2 separate regions of the Homo sapiens genome follow, and region 1 is linked to region 2. Evidence: promoter capture Hi-C in 16 types of primary human blood cells and fetal thymus (Javierre and others, 2016). All regions are on one chromosome and are shown on one strand. Each heading gives the region's core, a stretch centred on a gene start or on the middle of the fragment in contact. The rest is flanking DNA. Distances are from core to core; before and after follow the strand shown. Region 1 has its middle 15 kb from the start of ZFAND2A-DT. Region 2 holds the start of ADAP1 (ArfGAP with dual PH domains 1).

What was found. The method cuts DNA at HindIII sites, captures the fragments that hold promoters and counts their contacts. A CHiCAGO score of 5 or more calls a contact.
Region 1: a fragment that was not itself captured here is called in contact with the fragment with the promoter of ADAP1 in region 2 in 1 of 17 cell types (naive B cells); the score reaches 5.2 in naive B cells.

Annotation. Positions count from the first base shown.
Region 1 is chr7:1,171,560-1,178,941 of GRCh38, reverse strand. No RefSeq gene overlaps it. Among named protein-coding and RNA genes, the nearest start is that of ZFAND2A-DT, 15 kb to the right of the region's middle. RefSeq lists a silencer at 1,729-1,778. The HindIII fragment of the contact is 246 bases long and covers 4,712-4,957 here.
Region 2 is chr7:951,736-958,262 of GRCh38, reverse strand. It overlaps ADAP1 (ArfGAP with dual PH domains 1), which reads left to right and starts at 3,583. Exons shown (of 11, transcript NM_006869.4): 1 at 3,583-3,867. The coding sequence starts at 3,786. It overlaps LOC124901569 (a long non-coding RNA gene), which reads right to left and starts at 3,409. Exons shown (of 2, transcript XR_007060178.1): 1 at 2,999-3,409; 2 at 2,773-2,895. RefSeq lists silencers at 1-35, 3,277-3,376, 3,232-3,387, 3,407-3,896, 4,187-4,396 and enhancers at 2,690-3,299, 4,522-5,133. The HindIII fragment of the contact is 7,508 bases long and covers 1-5,401 here.

The sequences.
Region 1 (7,382 bases), core at 3,585-6,084, 220 kb before region 2:
TTCATCTCAAAATTAAATTAAATTAAATTAAGTATATATGTGTGTATATATATACATATACATATATATAGACACAGGCTTTACACCTTTCACAAAAATTAACTCAAAAATGGATCATTACTTAAAATCACTTGATTATAAAATGCAAAGCTATAAAACTTCCGGAAGATTACATAGGAGAAAATCAAGGTAACCCTGGGTTTGGCAATGAGTTTTTATCATCTTTATTATTATTATTTGAGATGGAGTCTTGCTACATTACCCAGGCTGTTCTCCAACTCCTGGACTCAAGCAATCCTCCCTCCTCAGCCTCCCCAGTGGCTGGGACTGCAGGCACACGCCACCACGCCTGGCTTGGCAATGAATTTTTAGATACCACACCAAAAACATAATCTATAAAAGATTGATAAGTTGGACCTTATAAAGGGTATCAGATGCCAAAGAAGATATACAGAGGGCAAATAAGTATATGGAAAGATGCTCAACATCTTATGTCTTTAGGGAACTGCCAATGAAAACGACAATGTAGAAACCACCACACCGCTGTTAGAATGACCAAAATCCAGACACCGACATCACCAAATGCTGGTGAGGACGTGGAGCAACAGGAATTCTCATCATGGCTGTGAGAATGACACTTGGGTGTTTTCTTACGGATCTAAACATATTCTTGCCATCAGATCCGGCAATTGTGCCTCTTAGAATCTACCCAAATGAGTTGAAAACATATATTCACACAAAAACCTGCATGTGAATGTTTGTAGCAGTTTTATTCACCATTGTTCAAATTTGGAAGCAACCAAGGTGACCTTCAAGAGGGAAATGTTGAATGGATAAGCAAAGTGTGGCCCATCCGTCTGGGGAAATATTATCTGACAATAAAAAGAAATGAGGCCGGGTGCAGTGGCTCACACCTGTAACCCCAGCACTTTGTTAGACCAAGGCAGGTGGATCACATGAGGTTGGGAGTTCGAGACCAGTCTGGCCAATATGGTGAAACCCCATCTCTACTAAAAATACAAAAAATTAGCGGCGTGGTAGTGGGCACCTGTAATCTCAGCTACTTGGGAGACTGAGGCAGGAGAGTTGTTTGAACCTGGGAGGCAGAGGTTGCAGTGAGCCCAGATTGCACCCTGGTCACACCACTGCACCACTCCAGCCTGGCCTCGAAACAGTGAGACTCCGTCTCAAAAAAAAAAAAAAAAAGAAAAGAAAAGAAAAAGAAAAGAAATGATCTGGCTGGGTGCAGTGGCTCACACCTGTAATCCCAGCACTTTGGGAGGCTGAGGCAGGAGGATCATTTGAGCCCAGGAGTTCAAGACCAGCCTGGGCAACATAGCAAGACCCCATCTCTACAAAAACTAAAAAACAAAATTGGCTGGGCACGGTGGGGTGCACCTGTAATCCCAGCTACTCAGGAAGCAGAAGCAGGAGGGTCGTTTAAGGCCAGGAGTTCGAGGCTGCAGTGAGCTGTGATGATACCACTGCATTCCAGCCTGGGCAACAGAGCAAGATCCTGTCTCTAAAATTTAAAATTTTAAAAAAGAAGGCTCCAGGAAGTGGGCATCTAACAGGGAGATACCACATAAAGCTGGAAAGGGATGCTGGACACTTCAGGGACGGCTGGACGGGCGTCTAGGCTGCGGTTGATGCTCAGGGAGGAAAGCTTCCTCGTGCCCGGTAGGTCTTCTGGTCCCGACCAGCCGTCATTCCCGCAAACACCGCTGGAGGGCGCGCGTGGTAACTGGAAAACGCCCACATGGGTTCCTCGGTGTGACGAGCTGTAATGATGCCACTGCACTCCAGCCTGGGCAACAGAGCAAGATCCTGTCTCTACCATAAGAAAAAATTTAAAAAAAGAAGGCTCCGAGAAGTGGGCAGTTAACAGGGAGATACCACATACAGCGGGAAAACACAATAAAACCAAAACGCCAGCCAACCACGTTGCACAGGAGGGCCCAGGGGAATGCAACCTGGTATCAACAAGGAATGGGCTGGCCGGGGGCACCGGTGCTGTCAAGGGGCTCAGGAGTGTCTGTCCTCTGTAAGCCAGAGCAGACGATACAAGACGTGGTTCTAGAAAGGTTTCCCTAGTAGCAATGAAAATCATGGGACCCCAGAATAATTGGGGTCAGGTGGTAGTGCTGACTCATCAGAAGCCAGGTGGGTGGAATCCTTGCGAGGGCAGCAGGCTGAGTGGTGACGGGGAAGCGGGAGCTGCAGACGGCTATGAAGATGGTTCATAAAACGTGGTATTCCTAGGGGACAGACAGACAGCCAACAAGAATATTACTTAAAGATCGAACCAAGAGAAGTCAACAATGGATACCAGAGGGCGGCGGGAAGCCACTGCAAGGCAACGTCTCGGTGCTTTGCTTGGCTTCCTGACCTGAGCCAGCCTTTGACCTGTGACTCAGTGCCTGCAGGAAGACCTCCCCGAACCACAGCGCGTGCAAGCTGTCACGATGCGCCTGGGCCTTGCACGAGAGGACCCTACAGCCTCCCTCGAAGGAGATGCCGGACACTTCAGGGACGGCTGGACGGGGGTCTACGCTGCCGTTAATGCTTAGGGAGGAAACGCTCATGGTGCCCAGTGGGTCTTCTGGTCCCGACCAGCCGTCATTCCCGCAACCACCACTGGAGGGCGCGCGTGGTACCTGGAAAACGCCCACATGGGTTTCTCGGTGTCCCGGAAGCTGTCCTGGCGGACACGGCCACGCAGAAGCCTCTGAAACTGCAGCCCCTGCTGCCCCGGCTCCCCTTGCAAGATAAGAAATCAAAGCAATGATGTGTTCCTGGGAGACGGGCAGGGCTTTGAGCCAGCTGTAAAGATCCAGAGGTCCCCATCCCATGCCCGTTTAAATAATTATTCTGGCCCCTGCAAAAAAGCAAGACCAGTCATGAAATACGACCGAGGATGGTGCAGACCTCACCAAGTCAAAGCCCGAAACGGCTACAGGCACGGCGTCTTCCCCGGAGCAGGCACACGGCCTCAGGGATGCGACGTTGGCCGCTGAGCTGGAAAGGGCCTTTTCCCATCCCTGTCAGTACGGAGATCAGAAGCAGTTCCTGTTCACACGGAAGGACAAAAGCATGCGTTTAAAATTTTGTCCCGGCCGGGCGTGGTGGCTCACACCTGGAATCCCAGTGCTTTGGGAGGCCAAGGCGGGTGGATCGCTTGAACACAGGAGTTCAAGACCAGCCTGACCAACATGGCGAAACCCCATCTCTACAAAAACAATGACAGAAATTAGCTGGGCATGGTGGCTCACACCTGCTGACCCTCATGGCACTAGGGGTAGCTGGGGTGGGAAAAGACGTGTGTGGAATTCATGACAGCCCGACCAGAGAACACACTGTATTCCCAAGGCTCCACAGCAAGGCCAGGTGTCCCCTGCCCCATGTCCCCTGCAGCAGGGAACCGTCTGGCCCTGGCGGAGACGGAACAGGGCACTATCTGGCCAGGGGGCATGAAGCAACTATGTGGCAAGAGCTTCCCTTCTGAGCTGGACCCCGTCAGATCCAACAAGTCACAGGCCAGGCAGCCCAGCCGCAGGGCTCCGAGTGGAAGGGTCCATGGGACAGGCCCAAGCAGGTCCGAGTGCGGGGGGGACACCACCCTCCACTGCCACGCCAGTACCTTCTGCCCGTTCCCACCTGCGGTCATGGGAGGGGAACTTGGTGACCAGCAGACGGAGGAAGAACAGAGCCGCCCTTGGTTCGCAAGTGGGTTGGCTCAGTACTGAGCACCCACTGAAAGTGGATTGTTGCCACGTTACAGGCCCACTCAGAGGTGGCCCTGAAAGACACTGTGGACAGAAATCTCCGGGCCAGAGCCTCAGGCCACGCATCTGGCCGTCCACTCCTCTGTGTAGGAAGAACAGTGGCCCACGGTAAGAACACACACAGCCCACGGGCGGTGGCGGGTGGCGTGGCTCTTTTGTCAGGGGCCTGGAAGTGAGGTGGGAGCGGGGACTTGACTCCAGAGGCGGGGCTTGGACATTAGACCTAATTGAGGACTAGCTGAAACAGGGACAAGGCCCAGACGCGGCCGCTCACGCCTGTAATCTCAGCACTTTGGGAGGCCAAGGCAGGTGGGTCACCTGAGGTCAGGAGTTCGAGACCAGCCTGGCCAACGTGGTGAGACTCCGTCTCTACTAAAAATACAAAAATTAGCCAGGTGTGGTGACATGTGCCTGTAATCCCAGCTACTCAGGAGGCTGAGGCAGGAGAATCACTTGAACCCAGGAGGCGGAGGTTACAGTGAGCCGAGATTGTGCCACTGCCCTTCAGCCTGGGTGACAGAGCAAGACTGTTTCAAAAAAAAAAATTAATTTAAATTAAAAAAAATAAATTGGTGTGTGGAGTGGGGGTGCTCTCACCTCACTCTATTCACTGCATCTCCTGGCTGACACGCGTCCAGTCCAGCTAAAATCAGTACTTCCTAATGATAGCAGCCTGGTCTCCCCGTGCGCCCCTTACTTACGACACCCCAGAGAGCTGAGTAACTGCCAATTATTATTGCGGGGAAGGAGGTAAGAAACCTTAACTGTGTTCTATACCTTTACCCTGAAAGAGACTGTCAGGGAAAATGGGAAGGGATGGGGTCCTGTGCCTGTGGGACTCAATTTTAATGCTTGTGTGGATGTGGCACATCGGGCCCATCTCCCCCCCGGGTTCCTGGCCCTGGATGGATGGGGCTGGGGAAGCTTAGCGCTGCTTATCGAGCTCTGCTGCGGAAGCTGCAGCCACATAATTACTCATTTGCCTTGTTTGTGCCTGTCTTCACGGCACACTCTTCCCCTGGTTCTAGGGTCTGGTCACGTTTGCGAGTCTGTGTCGCTGGGTTCTTTATGTGCCCACTTAGCCACCCTGGCACCTGCCATCCTCTTTCCTGCTTAAACCTAACAGGAATGGATTTCCATCACGGGCGTTTCTAATGTGCTCTGAGCAAGCTTCTGGGAGGCGCCGAGACGTGCAGAGTGGATGGCTACTGATGTGGCAGGAGGAGGGGAAGCAGGAGGCACACTGGGGCCTATGTGTCCTTAGAGAAGAGACGGGGTTTACCGGGTGAGGTGGCTCACGCCTGCAATCCCAGCACTTTGGGAGGCCAAGGTGGGTGGATCACCCGAGGTCAGGAGTTCAAGACCAGCCTGGCCAACATGGCAAAACCCCGTCTCTACTAAAAATACAAAAATTAGCTGGGTGTGGTGGCAGATGCCTGTAATCCCAGCTACTCGGGAAGCTGAGGCAGGATAATCACTTGAACCCGGGAGGCGGAGGTTGCAGTGAGCTGAGATGACACCACTGCACTCCAGCCTGGGCGACAAGAGTGAGACTCCGTCTCAAAAAAACAAAAAAAAGAGAAGAGACAGGATTGAGCCCCATGTGTGAGAGCCAAGGATAGAGGAGATGGCGGCCTCAAGGCTGCCATGCAGTGGGCAACAGTGTGCTGTGACTGTGTGGATCCAGGGGACGGAATCTTCCACCCCCAGCTACCTGGACCATGCCATCCGAAGCCAGGGAGAATTCGGCCCCGGCAACCTGGCAGAGGGCAGCTGTCTCCTGCTGATGACGGACAGCCACAGAGTACACCCCACCCACCCTTGGGCGCCGCATGGCCAGCGGCAGCAGCTCTGTCAGATTTCATATCCGCAGTCCTCCATTGCGTTGCACTCGTGACTCAATGTTCAAAAGCTTTCGGCCAGCTCCATTCTGCCCTCTCTGGGATAATATAACAATCAGAGAAAAGGAGTTTGGCCTGCACGGGAGGCCCCAAGAGGAGCCGGGTTCAGGCCACGTGGCTTCCAGCGCCTGCGTCCGCTTGCCCATCAAAGAAAGGGTACAAAAGTGGGAGAGTCTGTGGTTTCCTCATCAGCTTAGACCAAAGCCGTGACAGGGGAGAACCCCAAACTGCTAATTAAATCCATTCAGTTTTGGGGGTGGGGGAAGAGTAAACTCCTTCTCTGTGAGCACCAGGCAGTGGGTTCTGATTCCCACGCAGGCCAGCCTGGTGCTGTGGGTGAGGGCAGCTACTGCTGGCTCCTGCCCCAGTCTCCTGCCAGCTGCTCAGACCCGGAATGTCAGGGACCTGGCACCCGCCACCCCGGGCTAGCACTGTCCTACACCCTAACACAGAATCCAGCCACCTAGCTGCCTGAACTCCAGCCAAGAGGGACCAGAGAGGACGGAAAGGCCGTCGGTACCTGGGCTTTGTCTACCTCGCCCCTAGATGACCACCTGAGTGAGTGGGAGGGGCTGGATGAGGAGCAGGGCCCCTCCCCGGGGGCAACAACCACCTGAGAGAGCGGGGATGGCCTGGACAGAGGGGGGGAACCCTCCGGGGGGTGATGAGCACCTGAGTGAGTGGGGAGGGGCTGGACAGGAGCGCAAAGCCTCCTGGAGGTGATGGACACCTGAGAGAGTGGGTAGAGGCTGGACAGGAGCAGTGGGGCCTCCTGGGGGTGATGAGCACCTGAGTGAGTAGGGGGAAGCTGGGCAGGGAGGGGGGCCCTCCTGGGGGTGATGAGCACCTGAGTGAGTGGGCAGGGGCTGGACAGGAGCGCAAAGCCTCCTGGAAGTGATGGACACCTGAGAGAGTGGGTAGAGGCTGGACAGGAGCAGTGGAGCCTCCTGGGGGTGATGAGCACCTGAGTGAGTGGGCAGGGGCTGGACAGGAGCGGCGGGGCCTCCTGGTAAGGTCCGTTGTGCTTTGCTTTCTGCCTGGCCTCAGCAGAAGAGTTTGGTAATTGATTGCTATAATGGTGGCTGTTTTTAGAGTTTCTGTTGCTGGCAAAAAAGGACACAGGGACCCTTTTCAAAGAATATTCCAGGGAGTAGCGGGAGCTTCGGGGATGCAGGGACATAGTGTGTCCGGAGGTGGTTCCTGCTGGTGGGTTCGTTGTCTCCCTGACTTCGATAATGGAGCTAGGGACCTTCGCGGTGAGTGTTAACAGCTCTTAAAGATGGCACGGACCCAAAAAGTGAACAGTAGCAAGGTTTATTGTGAAGAGAGAAAGGATAAAGCTTTCACAGCATAGACGAGGACCCGAACACGTTGCCACTGCTGGCTAGAGGTGGGGGGGGGGGGCGGGGGTGGTTGGTGGCAGCCAGCTTTTATTCCCTTATTGGCCCCGCCCATGTTCCATTTCTGTCCTATCAGAGTGCCCTTTTTTCAATCCTCTCTGCGATTGACTACTTTTAGAATCCTGCTGATTGGTGCATTTTACAGAGCACTGATTGGTGCATTTTACAGAGCACTGATTGGTGCATTTTACAGAGCACTGATTGGTGCATTTTACAGAGTGCTGATTGGTGCATTTTACAGAGCGCTGATTGGTGCATTTTTACAGAGTGCTGATTGGTGCATTTTACAGAGCACT
Region 2 (6,527 bases), core at 2,334-4,833:
TCCAAGCGCAGATAATTTGACTGAATTAGCCCCGGCCCCTGTGCGGGGTGGAGAGGGAAGTGAACCTCCACAACCTCCCCTCCCCTGAGGCAGCTCCTGGTTGAGCAAGCTCGGCTGACTGTTGGGCAAGATGGTCGCAGAGCAGGGCCCAGCCCGGCCTCAGTCCATTTGCCCCTTCCCTGGGGAGAGCCCCCTTCTGCCTGTGCTGAGAGGCTCACCCCGCAGCTGCAGGCCTGGGAGGAGCCAGCTTCCAATCAAAGTCGCCTGCTGGCCTACCACGCGCAGGCCCCGTGCTCAGGCGACGCTGGAGGAGCTCGCCCTGCTCTCGGGAGCCCCCTGCCCAGGGTCTGCTGTGTGGCCGAGTGGTCACAGGAGGCGGCTGCCTCTGGCTCTGGACTAGGGAGATGCTTGAGGAATGAGTGTCAGGGTCCCTGGTGCAGCCGTGCGGGTCAGTGACAAGGGGCAGGAGGCTCAGCAGAGCTTGTAGGCCACTGGGCATGAGCAGGAGCAGGCACGCCGCCTGTCCAGGCCCCTCGCCAGCCGCTGCTGGCCGGAACAGCCTTTGACCAGCACTGGTCTGGGTCTGGCCCACCCTGAGCTATGCTGTTACCTTCCGGATTCTTCCTGAGTCCTGGGCTCCCCTACTGCCCCGCCCAGCCCTGACCACAGCCAGTCAGGGCAGCAGGATTTCAGGACGGCTGTGCTCTCGGGTCCAGGCAGGTACTTGCGGATCTCGGCCGAGCAGCCTCCTCTTTGGAAGAATCCCCCTCAGCCCCGACATCTCTTAGATCTGAGGGGTTCACCCACCTCTGTCTCATCCTCACGCCCTCCTGCCCCCCGAGCAATGCCACAGTTCCCTTAGCGGGATGGAAGGACAGAGAAGGCAAGACACTCGCCTGCTGGAGCTGCCCCACGGAGGAGGCCCCGGAACAGCAGGCAGTAGATGGCCTTGGCTTGTGCCAGAAGCTCTGGCCTGTTGGGCACCGGCTCCCCTGAGGCCTCCCTGCTGCCTTTTCTATGCCTTGTATGATGGCCTCCCCGTCTTTGGGGACCTTGGGTAACGGCTATGTTAGGGTGTGTTGCTTTGTTATATTGTTTTATGTATATTCCAGTCCTGAGGTGTGTGGCCTCCAGCAAGGGATCGAACCTCCCCGTGCCTCAGTCTTCCCAGCTGAAAATGGGGCTTTAATAAGAAAATACATGTCGGCCGGTCGCGGTGGCTCACGCCCATAATACCAGCACTTTGGGAGGCCTAGGCAGGCGGATCACGAGGTCAGGAGATCGAGAGCATCCTGGCTAACACGGTGAAACCCCGTCTCTACTAAAAATACAAAAAAATTAGCCGGGCGTGGTGGCATGCACCTGTGTCCCAGCTGCTGGGGAGGCTGAGGCAGGAGAATGGTGTGAACCCGGGAGGCGGAGCTTGCAGTGAGCCGAGATCGCACCACTGCACTCCAGCCTGGGTGACAGAGCAAGACTCTGTCTCAAAAAAAAAAAAAAGAAAAAAGAAAATACACGTCAAGCCAGGCGTGGTGGCTCAGGCCTGTAATCCCAGCACTTTCAGAGGCTAAGGCAGGCAGATCACGTGAAGTCAGGTGTTCGAGACCAGCCTGGGCAACATGGTGAAACCCTGTCTCTACCAAAAAATAAAAATATACCTGGGCATGGTGGCACCCATTTGTGGTCCCAGCTACTCAGGAGGCTGAGGCAGGAGAATCACCTGACCCCAGGAAGCAGAGGTTGCAGTGAGCTAAGATCGTGCCACTGCACTCCAGCCTGGGCGATAGACCAAAACCCTGTCTCAAAAAAAAAAAAAAAAAAAGGAAAAAAAGAAAAGAAAAGAAAAGAAAATAGAAAATACAAGTCAGGCTATTTCTCCTAATACCTAGTGCTGAGCTGCTGCTATTAATGTTCGTCTGTCTTTATTAGGCGACATTCTCCAAGCTCATGCTGTGTGGTGGATTCCGAGCCTGGCACAGGGACCCAGAGATGAAAATGCCACCTGTCCCCACCCCAAAGCCTCCCGTCTGAGGGAGGAGAAAGACCCATGTGAACGGTTACAGGGAAAGAGCACGTGATGCCACAGGGCACAGATCCCAGAGACACAGACCAAAACGGGCTGCCGCGTTCTGCTTCAGGTAGACAGAGCTTAAGCAGCTCCATGATTCCACGTCAGCTGGAGCAGGGGGACAGGTGCCTTTGGTGGCACTCTGGTCAGTGCAGCCTCAGTGGAGGCCATTCCACATCCCATACCATTGCCCCAGCGATGCCACTTTGAGAGCAAATCCACACAAAACTCTTGCAAAGATGAGGTTGTGTAGACCATGATTCTGATGCATTCAAAACGCTCTAAATGCCCCTATGCCAGTGACTGGGTGAACAAGTCATGGTTCAGTTGAACTTTTTTTGAGTTTGTTTGTTTGGTTTTTTTTTTTTTTTTTTTTTTTTGAAACGGAGTTTCACTCTTGTTGCCCAGGCTGGAGTGCAATGGCGCAATCTCGGCTCGCTGCAACCTCTGCCTGCCAGGTTCATGCGATTCTCCTGCCTCAGCCTCCCAAGTAGCTGGGATTGCAGGCATGCGCCACCACGCCTGGCTAATTTCTTTGTATTTAGTAGAGACGGGGTTTCACCATGTTGCCCAGGCTGGTCTCAAACTCCTGAGCTCAAGTGATCCACCCGCCAGGGTCTCCCAAAGTGCTGGGATTACAGCCGTTAGCCAAAACCCTGTCTCGATAAATGAATAAATAAATGAAAGGCTACAGGCCTCAGACGTTCGTTCTGGAAGGTGCTGAGGAATTTGTTAACAGTGGTTGCCTGGAAGGCAGTGGGGAGAGGCTTTCCTTTTTCAGTCTGGTATGTTCCAGTTTGTTTTCAGCCGGGTGTACTGCATTAACCCTGCAAGAAGAAAATGGAAAGAATTTGAAAAGATGCTGGGGTGTGCAGAGGAAGGGCACGCGAGTCTGGGAAGAGGTGACATCAAAACCAGGTTTTTTGTTACCTGTCAGCCCCCATGTGAAGTCCCGGCGGGGCCCCTCAGCCTGCCTGAGTGGGAGGGGTGCCCAGAGGGTCCCATCTGTGGGTGGTGGGCGGCTGGGTGGGTCTCAGGGGGAGGCTCCGTCTGGGCCCTGTGTGGCCTCAGTGCCCTGGGACGCTGGCGTTTGTCACCTGCTGGCCGTCCCTCCCAGGCAGGGATGGTGTGAGCGCCCTGGTCCTGGTCCGTAGCACAGGACACGCACACCTGCCTTCCACGAGCACCCCCATGCCCATGGTCTTGGGGGGCTCGGCAGGTGCCCTCTGCGCCCCCCACAGTAGGTGTGCAGGCTCCGTCCCACCGCGCGCGGCGGCACGAGGGTCCCACCCAGGCCGGCCAGGTTTTGGGGCGGCCTCGCGCCCAGGCAGGTGGGACGCTGCGCGCGGATGGGGGGCGGGCGGCGGGCGATTTCCCAGCGGGTCCCCGGGGCGCGCGGGCTGGGGGCGCCGGAGCGGCCGAGGGAGGAGGCCACACGCTCGCCTGCACCGCTGGGGGCCGCCCGCGGGCCTTGCCGGCCAGAGCGCAGCGTGCGCCCCGGGCCCCGCGCCGGCACTCGCTCAGCGACCGCGGCGGAGACACGAGCGGCGGCGGCGGAGCCCAGAGGGCGGCGGGAATGCGGAACCGGCGCGCGGGCTGAGGCCGCCCGGGATGGCGCAGGGGCGGCGGCGGCGGGCGGCCTGCGCGGGGCCCTAGCGAGCCGGGCTGACGCTCCCGGCCCCGGCCCCGGCATCGGCATCGCGGGCGCATCGCGGCCATGGCCAAGGAGCGGCGCAGGGCGGTCCTGGAGCTGCTGCAGCGGCCGGGGAACGCGCGCTGCGCGGACTGCGGCGCCCCGGGTAGGTGTGGGCCGGGTGGGCGCGGGGCCGGGTGGGTCCGGGGTGGGCGCGGGGTGCCGGGCGGGTCCTGGGTGGGCCCCGGGGACCGGGCGGGGGAGCGCGGACGCCGCGGGGGTGGCGGCGCTGAACACCGGGCCGGATCGGCGCTCGGATGGGGCCCGGGCCCGGCTGCACCTGCGGGGACCCGGACGTCTTCCCGGGCCGGGCGCAGCGGGGGGGCCCCCCCCAGGACCCCCGGAAACCCCCCTGCCGCCGCCTCCCCTCCCCCGCCGGGCTGCGTGTCTGACGGTCACCGCGGACCGCCCGCCGCGTTGCGAAAGCTCGGGCTCCGCACAGAAAGAGGAAATCGGGGCTGGCTGCAGGGAGGGAACGGGCCGCCAGCCGGAGGTCTCTGCTGGGCTGTGGGGTCCGCCGGCTCCGGGGCCACCTCGCGGTGACGTCATGCCTCACGCCCTTCCCGCACCGGGGGTCCCTGGGTGTGAGCGGCGCCCCTGCCCCCGGCTCCCTGCACCTGGCTGCTCCGGGGCGGGCGCCAGGACAGGTGAGGCCTGGGAGAGGTGGGGCCGGACGCAGGTCCTGGTCCACCCGCCGCCCGCCCGTTCGTTCTCCCGGCCGGGCATCCCTGACTCGGTTCCCAGGTCTGTGGGATTTCAAGGCACTGGAGTCCAAAGGCGCGGAGTCCCTCCCTTCCAGGCCACTGGTCCTGTCATTGGCTGTGAACGGGGCCCAGTGCCCAGACCAGCCCTGCCCTGCTCGGGAGCTGTCAGCCCCAGGCCGGCTGCGCTGTGGAGAGAGGGCCCCGCCGGAGCAGTCCCGCCACCCCAGGCACACCAGGAATCTGGGGGCCAATAGTCTAAGCCCCTCGGAACAAACCTAAACTCACCGGCGGTGACTGAGGCCCCCAGGGAGGGAGCGGGGGAAGACCTTGCATTTGCCTCCAAGGCCCTGGTTCAATATGCAGCCTCTGGACACCCCGGAAAAAGGGGTGTCCCTGATTCCCTCTGGGATGGAGGGGTCTCTGCCAGCCCCAGGTCGTGGTGGCTGCTGTCCAGCTGCAGCTTGGCTGGAAAGGCCACATCAGGAGCTGGGGTGTCCCAGAGGGGAGATAGCGACAGGCTTTTCTGGAAAGACAGGCAGGACCCACGGCCTTTCCATGGTCTCCTGAGACAGGACGGCCACAGGGCCCGTGCAATGGTGCGGTGGGGGTGGCCCCCTGGGCTGGCTCACCCCAGACTCTCTCCCCACAGACCTTTATTTCCTCCTGTTCAGGAACGCTCCCCAGGAAAGCCAGTGGGAAAGGGCCTGGCCTGGGGTTGCTGTGGCCCACGGGGAGGGGAGCTGGGCTTGCCTCTGAACCTCTGCTCCCTGGCCACACAGCCTGGGAGCAGCTTCTCTGGACTCAGGGCCCCTCTCCAGCCACCCTCTGGGCCTCCCAGCCTGGCAGGAGGAAGAGGGGACTTCCTTGGCCTGCTGGGTCCTTCAGTGGTCCTCCCCTCCCAGTGGGTGCAGGTGTGCCCGGCCCACCTGCTAAGCTTCCAGCCTGGCCCACCCCAGAGCTGTTCTCTGCCGTCCCTATGCCCCACGCTGCCGGGTAGAGGGCCGCACCTCTGCCTTTTCAGAATCTGTCCATGACCTCAGTGACTTGTCTCCTCTGTCGGGTAGCGCCATGGAGGGGGGATGCTGTGAGGGGTCACTCTCATTTCACAGCCAGGGAGACTGATGCCTTGCAAAGGGAGCTGTCTTAGGGGACATGAGCCACACCCGGCCGCTCTGCTTGTCCCCGCTCCCCAGGGCTGTGGCCACAGGGTGGAACAGGCGGTGTCAGGAGGCAGGGGGCTGCCTAGCCCCCCATGACCCCATGGCACATCCTCGAGGGCTCTATGCTTCTTTGCTGATGCCAGCTGCTCTGGGGCCTCCTGTACCTGCTGTGGCCCAGCTGGGTGACAAGGAGCCACTCCAGTGTTGATGGGGGCTGGGGTGGCCGGCACGTTCTGCTGTCCTCAGAACACTGTCCTGTGCACTGGCTCACGGCTGGTGCAGACCTGGACAGCAGGACATCAGACAGTCCCAGACCACCTCTGAACGCCAGGCCTGGGGCTGCTGGGGTGGACTTGAGCAGGCCCCACCCACTGGCCGTGTGAGGGAAGCAGTCTTGGGGTCTCTGCGGCCCCCACAGAAGCTCCTTCCAAACTCTCCCCATGACCTGTCCCAATAGTGGGTTCCCCTGACCTTGAACAGGGGGCCTCGCCCGGCGGCCACCCAGAGAGCCTCTCATCACAGGCCTGGCAGGTGGGCGAGTTGGGGCGTGCCTGGACCCACTGTCCTGCAAGACCTGGGTGGGGGTCTCCATCCTGGGAGGGGGTTTGGGGGAGGGAGGGGTGCCTCCGTACATCCTTGGAGCTGCCTGCCAAATCGCAACAGAGGACAGGGACCGGGCGCGGTGGCTCACGCCTGTCATCCCAGTGCTTTGGGAGGCCGAGGCCGGAGGATCGCTTGAGGCCAGGAGTTGGAAGCTGCAGTGAGTCGTGATCACACTCCAGCCTAGGCCAGAGTGAGACCCTGTCTCAAAAAAAAGAAAAACACACATATTGTCCTCTTTGAGTCTCAGGCCATCTGATGCCCCGGAAGGACTGGGGTGTCTGAGCTCTTTTGTTCTTTTT